3 separate regions of the Homo sapiens genome follow, and all the other regions are linked to region 2. Evidence: promoter capture Hi-C in human tissues and cell types (Jung and others, 2019). All regions are on one chromosome and are shown on one strand. Each heading gives the region's core, a stretch centred on a gene start or on the middle of the fragment in contact. The rest is flanking DNA. Distances are from core to core; before and after follow the strand shown.

Region 1 (3,198 bases), core at 455-2,954, 1.2 Mb after region 2:
ACATTGCATTATATTATACACCAAAAATAAATTGCATGTAAAAATCAGTGAAACTTTATTTCACTTAACATAAAGTCCAACAAGTTCATCCATGTTGTCACAAGTGACAGGCTTTATTATGTTAAATGACATACACCAGACACAGAAAGACATATACTGTGTGATCTCACCTATACATGGAATCTAAAAAGTTGAACTCAGAAGCAGAGAGTAGAATGATGCTTACAAGGGGCTGGGGTGGGAGTAGAGCAGGGTTGAAAAGATACTAGCCGAAGGACACACAATTTCAGTTAGATAGGAGGAATAAATTCAAGAGATCTACTGTACAACACAGTGACTATATTTAATAGCAATGTATTATATTTTGAAAATCATTAATACAGTAGATTTTAAGTGTTCTCACCACAAGAAATGTTAAGTGTGAAATAATACATATGTTCAATTTACTCAACTGAGCCATTCTACAATGCGTACATATTTCAAAGCATCACGTTGTACTTGATAAATATATATAATTTTAAGTTGTAAACTTAAAATTAAGTAATTAATTAAATGTTTAAAAAACCTAGTGAAACCTGAGTAAGATCTGTGGTTTAATAGTATCACATCAATGCTGATTTCTTCGATTTGGCATTGTACTATAGTTATGTAAGATGTAAGCTGCATGAAGGATGTTGAAAATATAAGTTTTGAAACTTCTTATCAAATATTAAATTGTTTTTATATAAAAAGTTTTTTAAAAGTTGATTATATTCTTTTTAATCTTTTCTCAACCTTTTATTGGCTTTTCTTTAACTTCAGGATGAAGTCCAAATGGGTGAGTTTGAGATTTAAGATCCTGGTTTCTCTCTCTGGCCTCACTTTTGCTTATAACTTCCCTATATTTTATACTCAAAATTTATTCCCTGAATAGGTCATGCACGTCCCCTAATTTGTGTATTTTTACCTGTGTTACCCCCAATTTGATGTGACATTTTACATTATATCTTCAAAATAACTCTCTAATAGGTCTCAGTTGCCTCATCTTTATAGTTGAAATCACTGAAACTCAAGAAAGTTAAGTCATAGAGCTAGCAGAAAAAGATATTCAAACCAGGCCAGTTTGACTCCTCTATACCATATTTGCTTATGTATACTGATGTTTAGATTTCATATATGCAAGACTGACATGACCCGTGCCTTATGCTTGTGACTTCTTGTATGGCTGTATTGCAAAAAGTACGTATTCAGTAAATGACTGTGGAATGCAAATGACCTGAACCCCATGATGTACTGTTTTAGATATATACAAATCATCATTTTGCAAATTGAGCTGAAAGGGCCCTGATAAATGTAAATAGAGATTTAAAATAAAAATGCTTACTTAATGGTAACAAACCAGTGATCTGAAATAAGTGGGCAAGGGCCTGAGTACTTGCAGAGCTTTTCCAGGACATCAGGAAGTTTTGTCACCCACTGAGATGTGAGCCACGCTGGAAATGATGGACTTTACACTGAAAACATGGAATGTCTTGTTCAGTGCTTCCCGTGAAGGAAGCTTCGATTTTTACAATCAATGGCAAGAGGCAGAAGAAAAGGCTCAGCAAGAAGCCCAAGTATGAAATCTGTTAAATGAGGAGGTCTAGGAAGCCCCATCATGTTTTTCTTTAAACAATTCATCAACCTTTTGATGTTAAGACCTACTATATGTGTAGAAATCAGATGAATTAATGGCATCTCAGTCTCAAATGTCCATTTACCTATTAATTGTTTGCAACAATGCTGTGGTATAGTGAACCTAAGCCACTCAAAAAAGAACACACACACAGACCTAGCACACACACATGCACACACACACTCACACTCACATACACAATGCGGCAAGTTTACAGGCTTCATGGATAATTTGAACCCTCACTAAGACTCCAAGTACAAGTACAGGATCCCTGGTACAGAAGTAAATGTCTTGTTTGAGGGTCAAAGAACTGTGCGATATAATCTAAAGCCAATCATTTTATTTTTTGACTCTACTTTTAGATTGACAAACCAGAACAAATATTAACCCCTCTACCTAAATTGAAGTGAAAAAAAAAAATCAGAAATTATAGGTATGTGAAAACTCCACATATAACTTATAGACATCAATTTACGTAACTATATATGAACTTACCCAGCTGTAAATTGTATGTGATATCAAATATAAATATAATAATTGTGCCTATTACACTCAGCAAATGTAATGGCCTTTGAAAATTAATGTACATTGAAAGAAATATGAGACCCAGAAGATAAAGATGATTTTCAGTTTCCCTGCTTTATCTAAATTCAATCTGGTCCTAATATATAAGAATTCAGATAACATGGTGTGGAGGTATTAGAGCTATTTCAAATATTCTGACATACCTTATGGGCACATAGCAGGAATTTAGACAGGGCCATATGGTTTGCATTGGCCAATGGGAGGTAAGAAAAATGATGTTTTTCACTCCCAGATGGAAGCTTTATAATTAAGAATATAATGTCCTGCGTTTTCTTCTTCTGCTCTGCTGATACTGAAAATGTTCAAAAGGTACAGTCTAATGAGATGAAACTTCATCTGTTTAAATCCCTGAGTGATTATAATAAGCAGATTCCCATTTCAACAATTTTGTACACAGAGTGTAAACAAAAAGTAAATTTATTGTGTTAAGACTGTGGTTTGGGGCTGGTATACTTTCACACATAATCTCACCCATCTTGACCTACACAAAAGCATATCAACCACCATGCTCTGCCCAGCTTCAATCCCTGCCCCCGTAAGTAGATTATTTTCATGAAAGCTTGTAAAGCTCTTACATATGATAATCTTACCAAGGAAAAGGATTGTATTTTATAAATTGCATATAACATATAAGACTCCAAGGATGGCCACTGTGCATTCCTTTTCTTCTTGTGCAAGCATGTTGTGCCTTGTGTCAAATTATCCACCCCTTAAGCCTGAGCTGGTCTTAACAACTTTCTTTACTAGTGGAATGCAGTGAAAAATACATCCTTGGGCTTTCAAGAGTAAGCCATAATAAGACCTAAAGCTTCTCCTTGTGTCTTGTGTAATCCTCTGTCAAGCACTCCAGCTATCATGATTGAAATGTCCAAGTCACCTAAACAAGCCACATGCAGGAGTTTTAGTTGACAACCCTGGTGATTTCCCAGCCCCAAACCAGCACTAATTGCCAGTCATGT
Region 2 (3,191 bases), core at 481-2,980:
GTCAGAACTGACCTGGGGAACCTGTGTTCAAGACCTGAACCTGGACCAGAAGCCAAGGGAAAGAGAAAGTTGCCCAAGAAAAAAGGGAGAAATTTCCACCAGGCGAAAATAGAAATCGCTGACTGGGTTTGTGGCTGGAGAGCTGTCCGTGGTGCTGACTCCTCCTCATTGGGATTCCAGTGAAGGCTGAGAAGCTCTGCACTGGCTGCTCCTCCTCTCCCTTTCCTCTCCCCTCAGTCCTGACCTTCTGAGACCCAGGATCATTCTGGCTAGCTCGATGTCTTCTCCTCTCTTTCTCCCTTTCTCTTTGTCGATTAAATAATTTTTCCCGAGTTCCCAGTTCATCACTCAAACATTTCTCTTCCATTTTGTTTCAAGACTCCTCTTCCTCCAATTAGTTCACTGGCTCCTAGATTGTTCTAGGCCTCCCTGGTGGTCACATCTCTCTCTTATCATCCTTTGAATTAAAAAACAAACAAAAAACATACAATGGCAATCATAAAAGCAGACAACATGCACTGAGCACTCACTAGGTGTCAGGGAGCAGTCTAAGTGCCTTTGCATACATTAACTCATGAGCAGTCTAAGTGCCTTTGCATATATTAACTCATTACAATTCCACATCAACCCTATTAGATGGGTAGATATATTATTATTCTATTAAACAGACAAGGAATTGAGGCTTAAGGGGTAAGTGATTTCACCAAGACCAGACAGCTACAGGACTCCAACCTCTCTGGAGCCTGCACTTCTACTGAATCTGGCTCTTTTACATATTCCAACACCTTTTCCTATGACTTCCTGCCCCTCCATCTGGTAGCCTTAATGCTTTCTATTCTTGCCTAATCTTCAGGGGACTAGGGATCTGCATTGCTGATTTGGTTTAAATCAGAAGGGAAGCAAAGTAAACAAACATACCAAATGTGCGCTGTGTGGGAATTATCATACGAGGGCTTTATTTTCTGCTTCAGGAAGAGGCCCTATGTTAGCAGCCCCAGCCTGCATTCAGGCTGATTGCAGAGTATTTTGCTTTTTATTTTCATGTCTTAGTCCCTGTACCCTCGCCCCTTCCCCGCCTCTGGTGGTCTCCAGAGAACTTCGTGTCCCCTCAGCTTCTCCCTCCTACATCCTGCCTACGTAGAGAAGCTCTTGCTTCATTCTGGGAGGTTACGTGGGCTCTCGCCTACACACCGAGAGAAACAAACAGTGTCAAACACTCACAGAGAGACGCGCAGACACAAACGGACCCACACGGGCAACTCCCGAGACAAAACCCACACTCGATGGATCCACGCGGCCGTGGAAACACCTGCCGCCCCAGAAACACTCAGGTACTCGCGACACACACAGTACAGTCACGCTTAAGGGCACCAGGATTCCGGGTTTGCGCGTATGCGCGGTCCCTTTGGATGCTCGTGCGCATAGACACAACACCCTACACGCCCCAGACCCACGAAACTCCCTACGGCTCAGCCCCAGCCCACCCGGGCCGCCCTTCCCTCGAGGCGGCCTCCCGTCTCTCCTCCTCTCGCTTCTCCTCCTCCTCCGCCTAAAGATGTACAAAACACTCCTCGGAAGCAACCCCGGCGTTCAGCTCCTCCCTCCCCGCCCCCCGGCCGCCGCTCCCCCATTCATTTTCGGCCGTCGCCGGCTAAGTCCCTCCCCCGGCGTAGCCCGGCCTCCGCCGCTCCCCGCCCGGAGACCGCGGCGCACTTGGACTTCCCTCTCCATTCGCCAGCCGCCTCGCTCCCGGACCCCACGGCTGCAAACTGATCTGGCGCGCGGGGAGGAGGAGAGCGCAGGCGAGCGAACCCGCGAGAGAGGGAGAGAGCGAGCGAGCAACAGCGAGAGCGAGAGCGAGAGAGCCGGGAGGCAGAGGGAGTAGTGACCGCCTTCCGGAGCCGGGATTCATGCCTGTCCTCGGGACCAGCGAAGGGGACTTTACGGCTGAGTATGAGCCAGGCTGCTAGGAGCCAGGTACCCCCACGCCTGCAGTCCCCGCGCCGTGCCCGGAATGCGAGCTGCACGCAGGGCTCTCCCAAGTTCCCACCGAGCCGAATAAAAAGCGTCCTCCCGCAGCTCTCCGCCAAAGACGGACATTGACTCCAGGTAAGGCGGCGCCGGGTGCAGCGCCCCGCAGCCCCGCTGCCCTTGGACCCGGCCCCGGGCCGCATTCGGGGCGTCCCCGCGCTCCTCTGCCCCTCCCCCTACCGGCACCCTTGTCCGCTCTTCACCTGGCCGCCCCGCCGCCTCCAAGTCTTCTCCAGTTCTAGGGAGGGGGTTCCTGTGCCTGGGGCTCAAAGGGCTAATTGCGGGTTTGAGTGAGTGGCGTGTGTGTCCCCGCGCGCTCCCGACGTGTGCACCATGGTGGGAACTTGATGTGGTGCTAGTGTGTTTGCGTGTGCGGCGTCGTTTGCGTTTGATGCGTGTGTTCGTGGTGTGTGTGTGTGTCCGTGTGTGTAAGGGAGGGGTGAAGAGAGAGAGGTCCTATAACCTACTTACGGCGCGATGTGTGTGTGCATGTTTGTACGTATGTGTTTGTATGTGTGCCCTCGTGTGTCTTTTTAATTAGGTCTCTCCAGCTTACACGGAATGGGACCCTTACTATAGGATCACGTAGTCACCGGGAAACCCGCTGTGGACTTCCTCTTGGGGCTCTGGGCTTGGGGTTTGGGGAGGATTATGGGGCTGTAGATGGCACCTTATTTAGCCCAATGTTGGTACGCTTGAAGGAAAATTCCTCCAAACGGTGGAATCCTGCTACACTGGGACCCACAGCTTAATATGAAAGAGACATGGCCAACCCCCGAGGCAAATGAGACGCTGTCACTTTAAATTCTACACTGGGCAGACTCCAAGATTCTGATGGGAATTTGGAGACACTGGATAGTGGGTGACAGAGAAAGGGGGAAGTCAGCGGTGGGCTCCTTATCTGGGGCTTGGAAAGTCTGGGATAGGGATTTACCCTGCATCCCCGTTTGCAATCAACAGAGCCCCTCCGGCTTCTGTTGGTTTTGGGGAGGATCTGGCAAGTTTGCATGGATCCCCCTCAGGGGAAAGGAGAAAGCGTCCTCGGGGACTTGCTCATCCATCACAGTTGCAAAGGGTCTCAGAGGAAATTTCATCTGGGGCGGCTGTGGATGATATGGAAGGAGATGGATGGGGCACTTTCCTAAGACAGATTCGTCTTT
Region 3 (3,632 bases), core at 67-2,566, 1.1 Mb after region 2:
TGGGAGGATTCTTTGAGGCCAGGAGTTCAAGATCAGCCTGGGCAACATAACAAGACCCAAGCTCTACCAAAAAAAGAAAGAAAGAAATATAGAAATATTTATGAGTAAATAAATATAATGTCAAGAATGGAATTTGCTTCAAAATTTGCTTCAAAGTAGGATGGACAGTGGGGGGTTATAGACAATAAAATTTGATAATTTTATCCAAAAATTATGGCTTGATAATTATGAAAAGCACATGATAGGGGCACAGGGTTAGGATTTTATTTTCCATGCTTTTTACATTTACATTTGTTCATAGTGAAATTTTTTTTTCTAAGTAATGATAATTTAAGCAGATGAAGATGTACTGATGTGGAACCATATGCATGCTATACTATTTATCAAAATAAAAGCAGGCTACAGGATAATATGGAGAAGATGATTTATTTATATATCTCCCAAGTGGTTCTGCACCATATAGACTCTTGCCTTTTTAGCCTATGACTCACAACCCTCCAACTGTCTTTCTAAAACACAACTTAGGGCCTGCATTACCGATGGTTAGAAAACTCTATACAGCTTTCCCTTCATAACAGGGTGAAACGCAAATTTCATAATACTGCATTCAACTTCCTTCACAATATGACCATAATGTATTTTTCCAGACATTTCTTATTCCATCCTCTTTTCCAACACACTGTATACTTTAGGTGAAACAATTTAAGTGCATATAATTTAAAGTCATGCAGTCATGTTGTAGCCAAATTCTGATACTGATACTGGCCATGTGACATTGGAAAAGTTCCTCTGCCTCCCAGAGCTTTAGGAAACTCATGTACAAAATGGAAAAAATAACAATGCTTGTCTTCTATGGTTGTTGTGGAAATTAAGTGATACAATATATGAAAAGTGCTTAATATTGAATTCGACACTAAATAATAATCTAATAAATCTAGCTATCACTGTTAATAATTATAATTATTTAGCTATTGATTCACTCACTAATTCAAGAAATATTTATTGAGCTCTCTTTAAATATCAAGCACCATCCTAGGCTCATACCAGAGTATTCACCACTCCAGAAATATGTAATGCGCCTTCAGAATGTCATGCTTTGGCTTGGGCCATCTTAGTTTTGTGGATTTTCCTTTTAACTTCTCTGGTAAGTTCACACTTATTTATCCTCAAGACTGAGTTAATGCTTTTCTTTCACCTTCATTGCTGCACCCAGAATGACTCATAGCTCTTTTCTCCATATGATTTGAACACTCTGCTCAATCTGTGACTTCAGTATTTATCAATCCAAATATGTACACTGCAGTCAAGGATTGAGTCCTTGCCTGCAGGGTATATATCAGTCTTCGCACAGATTGTGAGATCCCTTAAGGAAGGATCCCTTTTAAATTTACTTTTGTATCTTCAGAGCCTTGAATCTGCTCTGGTTAGGAAGGACGCTCAAGCATTTTTATTTATTTACTTTAATAATGAGACAAGTTAATCAGTATTGGCATATTGAGCTTGCTTGCCTTGGACTGAGGGTCAGAGAGCGCTAGTTATAGCTAAGCTGAAAAGGTAGCTGCCGTCTTGAGTTAGGGGGATATACAGTTCTCCCATCCTCAATCTAAGCACAGATGCATGGAATCTCTTGAAAAAAGGCCTCTAATTCATAGTGGGAAATGAGGTCACAAGTAAATGACTGTCACGGTCATCAAATGTTAAAGCAAAGGAAGCTGAGACATTCTGAAAACAAATCTCATTTTTCAGATTATCAAAAAGAGTGTTGAAGAAGTACACAATCTTTCCTGCCCTTCAGCTCATTCATTCATTCATTCATTCATTCAATAAATATGCATTTTGTGTAATTCTGTGCCTGACAGTCTACCAGAAGCTGGAGCTAGCACTGTTCTTTCTATGGCATCATGTGATCTCTATGTCTCTATGGCTATCAATAGCCTTTTTTTTTTTTTTTTTTGAGGATACCTCTGGATATGAAGGAGACACACAGCTGGCTGTCTAAATGGGAGCAGCATTGCCAATAGGACAGGAGGAGGAAGGGATAGAGAAAAAACAGTGTCCAAGAAACCATACTTGGCTGAAGCCACATGTTTTTTTCTGTGGTCAAACATATAAATTATTTCCTGGCTGGCTTTAGGATTCTTGTAATCTATCCCCAGTTCTTTCTCTAGTAGTGATTTAGGGAAATTATCTTAATGACCTTCTTTCTGCTTTCTCATTTTGATAGTGAGTGGATTAGACCTGTCAATCGTTCATAATTTTGTTGGGTCACAAGAACAATTTGAGGTCTAATGAAAGCTCTGAACTTTCTCCTGAGGAAGGAAAATTGCACAAACACATGCAAACACATAAATACACACTTTTGCAGCATTCATAGAATCACTGCTTTCTAACCTAAGGTCTCAAGATTTCCACATTAAGAACTCCTAGACTCAGAAATCTCCATGACACATCTAATTGTATGATACCACCATGTCATCTTTGCTCAAAACATCCTTTCCTGCTGGATCTTTCAGACCTAGGGTGTGATTGAGAACTTTTACTCCAACTTCCTGCTCTGTCTCCCTCAGCTTAAGACTACAACAAAAGGTGCCTGGCAAGCAGATGCACATCAGCCATGACAGTCTGTGGGTGGTGCAGAGAGGAGAAAGAAATGGGAATTCCAGCCATAGTGCAATGTCTGTCTCCTGCCTGCCTTGCTGGGTTTCACTTATTGAATTAGGACAAATTGGAACTTTCATAAACTGTGATATAAATCATTATCTCACGTTAGCAGATGCAGTCGCACCAGGGTAGAACACTGTTAATAACTCTGCTGGATTAGGACTGATTGGAACGATTTGAAACTTGTTTCTCTCAGCTTGATCAGCCTCATTGTAACCACTGCAATTATCCCATTTTACTTTCAGTGGCTCAGCACAGACATGTACCTACTTTATATCCATCCCTCTTAATGAAGCCAGCTCAGATTTTTGTTCATTTGGCAAAGTGCTGTCATATGCAAACAATAAATAACTCCACCCCTTGGGGGGCAAGGTGTATGTTTGCAAGGCTGAGATCTCCAATGGGCTAGACAAATATAATTCATATGTTGATCATTTCATTGACTTATTTATTCATTTCATCCTTTCTTATTTGAGCAGCCGCTTTGTGCCAAAAAATGAATGTTTTAGGCTGTGGGACATATCGAATTGGATTAAACCATACAGTGTTGCATCTGTGTCATTGCTATCTCCCTGGTGAAGTGTACATCTTTGAAGGAAGGGAATATCCTTCAATAATATTAATAGCTACAATGTAGTGGCTCTCTACAATGGTCTATGAACTATGCTAAAACTAATCAATGTCACAGAGTCGCAAAGGAGTCTATAGGAGGCAGCCCAGTCTTTGCACTGAACTGATTAGCAAAGACTTCATGAAGGCAGAGGCATATGAGCAGGACTTTAAGAAATAGAGCAAATTGAACTTGATAGGTGAAGGATGAAAAAGAAAATATATTTTACACACAGGGAAGGGCATGATCCAAAGATATCCTTCATTACTTTATTGAAAATCCAGATGAAATATTAGATGGCACAGATAGGGTAAAAATTGCCATATAAACATCCATTTTAAAACCGCATAAACTTGGGCTG

The links. Contacts are between HindIII fragments. The study calls those that stand out against the background at their distance.
Region 1: a fragment that was not itself captured here is called in contact with the fragment with the promoter of BRINP1 in region 2 in 1 of the 25 tissues and cell types used here (dorsolateral prefrontal cortex).
Region 3: a fragment that was not itself captured here is called in contact with the fragment with the promoter of BRINP1 in region 2 in 1 of the 25 tissues and cell types used here (dorsolateral prefrontal cortex).

Annotation. Positions count from the first base shown.
Region 1 is chr9:118,151,113-118,154,310 of GRCh38, reverse strand. All of the region lies in intron 3 of LOC105376247 (a long non-coding RNA gene), which reads right to left. Among named protein-coding and RNA genes, the nearest start is that of TLR4, 450 kb to the right of the region's middle. The HindIII fragment of the contact is 3,221 bases long and covers 94-3,198 here.
Region 2 is chr9:119,367,974-119,371,164 of GRCh38, reverse strand. It overlaps BRINP1 (BMP/retinoic acid inducible neural specific 1), which reads left to right and starts at 1,730. Exons shown (of 8, transcript NM_014618.3): 1 at 1,730-2,109. RefSeq lists enhancers at 766-1,286, 1,287-1,809, 1,810-2,331. The HindIII fragment of the contact is 11,628 bases long and covers 1-3,191 here.
Region 3 is chr9:118,298,103-118,301,734 of GRCh38, reverse strand. No RefSeq gene overlaps it. Among named protein-coding and RNA genes, the nearest start is that of LINC02578, 380 kb to the left of the region's middle. The HindIII fragment of the contact is 4,740 bases long and covers 1-3,632 here.